Linked DNA regions of Homo sapiens: region 2 is linked to region 1. The links are contacts of gene promoters, found by promoter capture Hi-C in blood cells and fetal thymus (Javierre and others, 2016). All regions are on one chromosome and are shown on one strand. The core of a region is centred on a gene start or on the middle of the fragment in contact, and the rest is flanking DNA. Distances in the headings are between cores, read along the strand shown.

Region 1 (3,356 bases), core at 285-2,784:
GCATTCTTCCTGGAGGAGCTGGCTGAAGATCTGTAGAGGGCCCATGTGCCACGTTCAGAGCACTGTTGGGCTGTGAGGTGCCAGGCATGCCCTGCCTCCTACGTGGGCCCCTATGGCCTGGCCTTGAAACCGCCACTGCAAAATTATAACCGAGACAATGAAAGAGATCTGACCTAACCAACTCCATCTTGCTTCTAACCTCCAAGCTGTCCTTGTTCATTCCTGAGCGTAGGCTGAACTAACCTTGGGAAGGAATGAGTTTATAGTTTAACTTCAAAACAAAAATAGCCCTTTCCCGGGAAAACAACAACAACAACAACAAAAAACAACCTCTTCTTGCCTGGGACCAGTTGGCCTTTGGAGGACTAACAAATTAGCTATAAGATTAGAAATTACAGTTTAGAGGCCATACAGCCTTTGGTTGCAAGAGTCTGAACGTCCCCCAAATTGTTCCTGGGAATAACATCACTGTTGTAAAACCTACCAACACCCAGACTGGTAATCTGGCTCAACTAGTTCTGCAATCCCATTCAGGAACAGAAGACAGCAAGAAAAACTCACTTCGGCCCCCTATCAGTCCATCTCCAACCCGACCAATCATGCACCTCCCACTTCCCGAGCTTCTACTCGCCAAATTATCCTTAAAAATTCCGATCCGTTTTTGGGGAGACCGATTTGGCTAATAAAACTCCCTTTCCAACACACCCGGCTCTGCGTGAATTACTCTCTCTCTATTGCAATTTCCGTCTTGATAAATCAGCTGTCTAGTCAGCGGGCTGTAACCTTGGGCGGTTACAGCCTGGCCTGTCCCATCCCATCCAATAGTTCCCATCTCTTCTCAGCTCTCTCTGTAGTTTCTCTTCCTCCGCCTGCCTTTTAAGTTAGTGTTTCCCAGGACAGAGGTGACTCAGTTGTATCCAGACCGCTCTGTGACTGAACACCCACTTTCTTTTCCTTTTCCAAAAAATATATGTAACATACATGTCAACTAGGAACAAAACAGTATCTCAGGAATCCACCATCCAGTTAAAAATGGACCCTTACCCTTACCGTGCCCCTGCAGAGACCCCAATACAGCGCATTTCCCTCATTCTTTTGCTTTTCTCAAGTTTTACCACGGCCTCGTGGCCACAAGTGACAAAAGAGACAAGTGGAGGCAGCTGAGCCGGCCTTTAGGTTTCTGTACACAGGGAGATTTCCCATGGCTGGCATTTATGGAAACAACCGCTGGTATGTGAAAAACAGGTCCGTCACCGCCGTCACGACGGCCAGAGATTATACCCGCCGAGATGCCCGCGGCCCAGGGCCTACAATTTCCTCCGGCCAGCTCCTTTGGCCGCGCAAGCGCAGTGGGGCCGGCGGGAAGCGTAGGCGTGTGACGTCATCAGGCGGCGCGGGCCAGCCAGGTGCACGTGACTAAGGCCTTGGGCGCGGCAGGTGGTAGCCTTCCCGCCCTTCTGGCCTCTCCATCCCCTGCTGCGGGGGACCGCGCAAGCGCAGTGAGTACTGCACGTTGTCGCGGGCCAGTAACGTCATCAGACGTGTGTGTGTCCCTGCGGCGCTAAGAAGGGGAGACTGAGGCTGAGGCTGGGGAACATCGGGCAGCATGAGCGGCTGCGGGCTCTTCCTGCGCACCACGGCTGCGGCTCGTGCCTGCCGGGGTCTGGTGGTCTCTACCGCGAACCGGCGGCTACTGCGCACCAGCCCGCCTGTACGAGCTTTCGCCAAAGAGCTTTTCCTAGGCAAAATCAAGAAGGTAACGCGAGCCCTGGGCGAACCCTTGCTGTCTGGCTCCCGCTTTTCACCCTCAGCTGCAAGACTGGTGTTGAACTTTGTGAGATTCCCCAAACCTGCCAGAGAGATACACCCTGCGGCCGAGGCGTGTTAACACTCCGGATTCCTGAGTTCCAGGAAAACCTTCCCAGAGAAAGGGTGAGACATTTCCAAGACGGGGGACCCTTGGAAATGTGGTGGTGACGTGTTCCAGCTAAATTTTGTCAGGGGAATTCGGAAAACTCTAGGCTAGGTAATTAACAAAGCAGCCTTCATCTCAGCTGGTCTGGTCTGGAAATGTGCGGGGCTTCCTCTCTGATTCCTAAACAGCTTACACCATGTCCCTCCTCAGTCACCTTCCAGCGCCCTGGGGCTTCCTTCCCCAGGTGAGCCCAGCGCCTCTCCCTGCCATTGAGGTTCCTCAGAAATCTGGCTCCAAGATGCTTCCCAAGGGTGGCACAACCCAGCCAATAGTAACAGTTTGGTTATAAAACACTCATTGTCTTCTTAGAGTTGGAAGACTTGGGTTTGGTCTTGGCTCGTTGACTTTGAAACTCAGTTGTTTTTTTTGAGACAGAGTCGCGCTCTTGTCGCCCAGGCTGGAGTGCTCACTGCAACCTCCCTCCTGGGTTCAAGCGATTCTCCTGCCTCAGCCTCCGGAGTAGCTGGGATTACAGGCGCCTGCCCGGCTTTTTTTTTTTTTGTATTTTTAGCAGAGACGGGGTTTCACCATGTTGGCCAAGCTGGTCTAGAACTGACCTCGGGTGATCCGCCCACCTCGGCCTCCCACAGTGCTGGGATTACAGGGGTGAGCCACCGCGCCCGGCCAAGACTCAGTTCTTTCAGCCTTAAAATGGAGATAGTGTTGTGTCTCCTTCACAGATGTGTTGTAGAGCCCCAGTGAGATAAACGGTGCATGGAGAGTCTTCTTAAACTGTAGAGTACTGTGCAGCAGAAGAGAGAGCTGGCTTCAACACTTAGTCTTGTGACCTTGGAGCTGACGGCTGCACCTCCCTGTGCCTCAGTGCATTCATCTACAAAATAGGAATAAACACATTTCTTGCTCTTTCCTTTGTATTTCATTTTATCTTCTAAGGAAACCAACAGTATACTTGCTATTTCGTCGAGGTGCCCTACTTTGAACTTGGCTGAATGTTGGCTGATCCTGTATCACAGAAGTTATTCCCTGGCTTCTCTTTGGAACGTTCCTCTGAGGTTGTCAGGCTGATACCTTTATAGCAAGCAACTTTACAGATGAAGAAGCTAAGACTCAGACTAAAAGCAGTTTGCCCAGCTAGAAAGTGCGGAGCTATGTCTTGAACATATTGGAAAACCTTTTACCCAGGACCTGGGGCAGTGTGGTGCTCTATCCTGGGACTTCCTGCTATCCAGCAGCATGGTGAAGAAAGAACACAGATCTTTCAGATCTGTTTCCATCTTTAAACCTCTGGCACTACCTGCCCTGCCCTGCCTTTACTCTCAGCTGTCAGCTTTGCTTCCCATTCCACTGGGAAAATCCATGCAGTCGGATGAGAAGTTCACAGGCACAGTTACCCCCTCCCGCTGCATATGTGCCGGTATTA
Region 2 (3,356 bases), core at 588-3,087, 370 kb after region 1:
GACATGGCACCATGAGAAGCACAGGACTGTACCAGGGCTGCTGGGAGATTGTGAGTGGTTTGGGGTAGAGTGGAGCCCACCTGCTTGCAGGAGACTAGTAGGATCCCTAGACAGATTGTAGAGGCTTGATTGCCATTCCTGAGGAGTTTGAACTTTACTAGATTTCCTAGGAAGGGACATCTTCCCTTTACCTATGTCTGGGAGAGTTTTGAAGTTCAGAGTCACAACCTACCTTCTCCATTGTCCTTGACCGTAGGTGGAGGCTCCAACCCATTCCAGCACCTTGAGAAGAGTGCGGTACTCCAGGAGGCAAGTGACATTTGCTCCCCTCTAGCTTCCATCATAAATATTCACCACCAATGCAACTGAAATACCAACACATTCAAAGTGTTGTTTTAAAGAGCAACACGGGAGAAAACTTGTGCCTGGAAGTTTTCTGGAAGACAGGAAAACTTTGTTTCTGGAGAGAGTTAGTTATGCTTACTTCTTTTTTTTTTTTTTTTTTTTTTTTTTTCTGAGACAGAGTCTTGCTCTGTCGCTCAGGCTGGAGTGCAGTGGCGTGATCTCGGCTCACTGCAAGCTCCGCCTTCCAGGTTCACGCCATTCTCCTGCCTCAGCCTCCCAAGTAGCTGGGACTACAGACGCCCGCCACCACACCCGGCTAATTTTTTGTATTTTTAGTAGAGACGGGGTTTCACCGCGTTAGCCAGGACGGTCTTGATCTCCTGACCTCGTGATCCACCCGCCTCGGCCTCCCAAAGTGCTGGGATTACAGGCTTGAGCCACCGCGCCTGGCCTCTCTATTTAAACATTTAAAAAATTTCTCTATTTAAAGTTAATTCCAAAGCTAAGGAAACTGGTTTAAAACTATCACCTAAGCTAGACTGTGGCCATTATGCAGGTAGAGATTTTGCATGACTTGTTTATTTTTATTATATATATTTTTTATATATATATATATATGTATTTTTTTTTAGAAGGCGTCTCACTCTGTTGCTCAGGCTGGAGTGCAGTGGCACGATCTCGGCTCAACTGCAACCTCTGCCTCCTGGGTTCAAGCAATTTTTCTGTCTCAGCCTCCCAAGTAGCCGGGACTACAGGCGCACGCCACTATGCCTGGCTGATTTTTATATTTTTAGTAGAGATGAGGTTTCACGATGTTGGCCAGGCAGGAGAATGGTGTGAATCCTGACCTCTTGATCCTCCCGCCTCGGCCTCCCAAAGTGCTGGGATTATAAGCGTGAGCCACCGCGCCCGGCCACTTCTCTTTTTTTTTTTGAGATGGAGACTTGCTGGTGTCAGCCTGGGGTGGAGTGCAATGGCATGATCTTGGCTTGCTGCAACCTCCGCCTCCTGGGTTCCAGCAATTCTCCTGCCTCGGCCTCCCGAGTAGCTGAGATTACAGGTGCCCACCACCATGCCTGGCTAAGTTTTGTATTTTTAGTACAGACGGGGTTTCACCATGTTGGCCAGGCTGGTCTCGAACTGACCTCAGGTGATCCACCCGCCTCGGCCTCCCAAAGTGCTAGGATTACAGGTGTGAGCTACTGCGTCCAGCCGCTTCTTTCTTTATTGTTGTCGTTCATTGTTTCTGTTTCCAGTTAGCAGATGGTTGCTAAGTATCTGCTAGTCAATAGGTTAGCACATCCCTAACTAATATTTACACGAGAGTCTAAGAATAATTAGTAGTTGATTAAAGAAAAACAAACCCTTTCCTTATGAAAATAAGCTTGTTGCATACCCAGAAAGCCCTGTTTAGACAAGTCAGTTTACCCTGAGACTTCTCAGACATTGAATATACTTGAAGGGAAATGAACTAGGCTAGAAGGTAACATCTTTGGTCATTTCTTCTTAGGCCCGTGTATTTAATGAAACTCCCATCAACCCTCGGAAATGTGCCCACATCCTCACCAAGATTCTTTATCTCATAAACCAGGTAACAGGGTGAAGCTTGCGGGTAGGGAGAATGGTGCTGGGGGATTGGAGGGGAGTGGACAAATCATGATCACTCTTAGGCTATTGGACAGCCTCTGTGTGGCTGTAGACAACAGCTCAGCTCTGGGTCCCCTCAGCATCCAAGTCTCATATGTTGCCCTTGAGCCTCTTTAGGGTCTGGGGATCTGGTGTGGGCTGATCCTGAAAGAACTGCTGTCTGACCCTCTGTCCCAAGCTGAGACTTCTTTCTTGATTAACACAGGGGGAGCACCTGGGGACCACGGAAGCGACCGAGGCCTTCTTTGCCATGACCAAGCTCTTTCAGTCCAATGATGTAAGTGCCTCAACCCAGCTTTCCTTGAGAGGTGGCAGCTGTAACAAGGTGGTGGGAGGGCCAAAGAGAGCTGGCCCCACCAGTCAGTGTGGGCTGCCTTTGTGGAGACAGGAGGTATCTTCTCCCAACTCTGGCCCTTGGTGAGCCCGGGCTGATAGGGCTTTTCCCACCTATCTCCCAGCCCACACTCCGTCGGATGTGCTACTTGACCATCAAGGAGATGTCTTGCATTGCAGAGGATGTCATCATTGTCACCAGCAGGCAAGTCATGGGGTTGTGGGTGGCTCTTCTGATGGGTTCCATTGACAGACCATTTTTTTCTTGTGTGTACCAGACAGTGAGACTTGGTTGCATATTGCCAGCTGCCCACCCCGTGGCAGCTTCCCTGTTACCACTGCCCACCCCATGGCAGCCTCCAGGTGTGCTGTTTCTATTTTAATTCTCTGACCTTGACTTGGACACAAATGCTTCCTTTTCTTGATTTCTCTTAGTCAACCAAACCAGCTTAGAACTTTCCCAAAGACTTTCTTGAGTATAAAGAGAGAACACAAGAAAAATAAACAAGAGAGTACAAGCGGTATACTGCTTACTAAGTGACTGGTGTCTGCTTTAAGCTAAGCAATTCAGGGACAGATGTGACTAAAGTGTAATCACTGCCCTTAAGAACTGGGGCTCAGTTCTCTTATTTCTTCCTGCCACAGTTTAAGGTTGTGGGGGTCATACATTGATTTGTAGGTTCAGTTAGAAAATATTGTCTGTCAGTCCCTGTGTGTAGCTCTGGGGATATAGCAACAAAAAAGATAGACATGGCCTCTGTAGCCCCAGAATTTACAGAGAAATAACCAGGCATCAGGCCATTAAGGTAGGGTGTAATATAGTTTATCACGGAAGTATTATGGGCTATGAGAGCAGACCAGAAGAGCATCCAGCTTGATTAGAATTACGAAAGTCCTCCCAGAGGAATGATCTAAGTGGAGTCCTGAAGGATGAGTAAGAAATAGTAGGACAGGACAGGCGCAGTGGCTCATGCCTGTAATCCCAGCACTGTATCCACAATGTAATCCACAGACTGCGATGGGTGGATCAC

The links. Contacts are between HindIII fragments. The CHiCAGO score rates a contact against its expected background, and 5 or more counts as called.
Region 2: a fragment that was not itself captured here is called in contact with the fragment with the promoter of ACAD9 in region 1 in 3 of 17 cell types (naive CD8 T cells, non-activated CD4 T cells and naive CD4 T cells); the score reaches 5.9 in naive CD8 T cells.

What each region holds. Positions count from the first base shown.
Region 1 is chr3:128,878,086-128,881,441 of GRCh38, forward strand. It overlaps ACAD9 (acyl-CoA dehydrogenase family member 9), which reads left to right and starts at 1,535. Exons shown (of 18, transcript NM_014049.5): 1 at 1,535-1,756. The coding sequence starts at 1,607. ACAD9-DT (ACAD9 divergent transcript) reads right to left here and starts at 1,351. Exons shown (of 3, transcript NR_186174.1): 1 at 1,051-1,351. RefSeq lists enhancers at 405-1,256, 1,112-1,661, 1,257-2,109, 1,722-1,801, 2,110-2,961. The HindIII fragment of the contact is 10,907 bases long and covers 1-3,356 here.
Region 2 is chr3:129,250,426-129,253,781 of GRCh38, forward strand. COPG1 (coat protein complex I subunit gamma 1) reads left to right here. Exons shown (of 24, transcript NM_016128.4): 2 at 257-309; 3 at 1,856-1,936; 4 at 2,198-2,269; 5 at 2,451-2,530. Among named protein-coding and RNA genes, the nearest start is that of COPG1, 2.5 kb to the left of the region's middle. The HindIII fragment of the contact is 221 bases long and covers 1,728-1,948 here.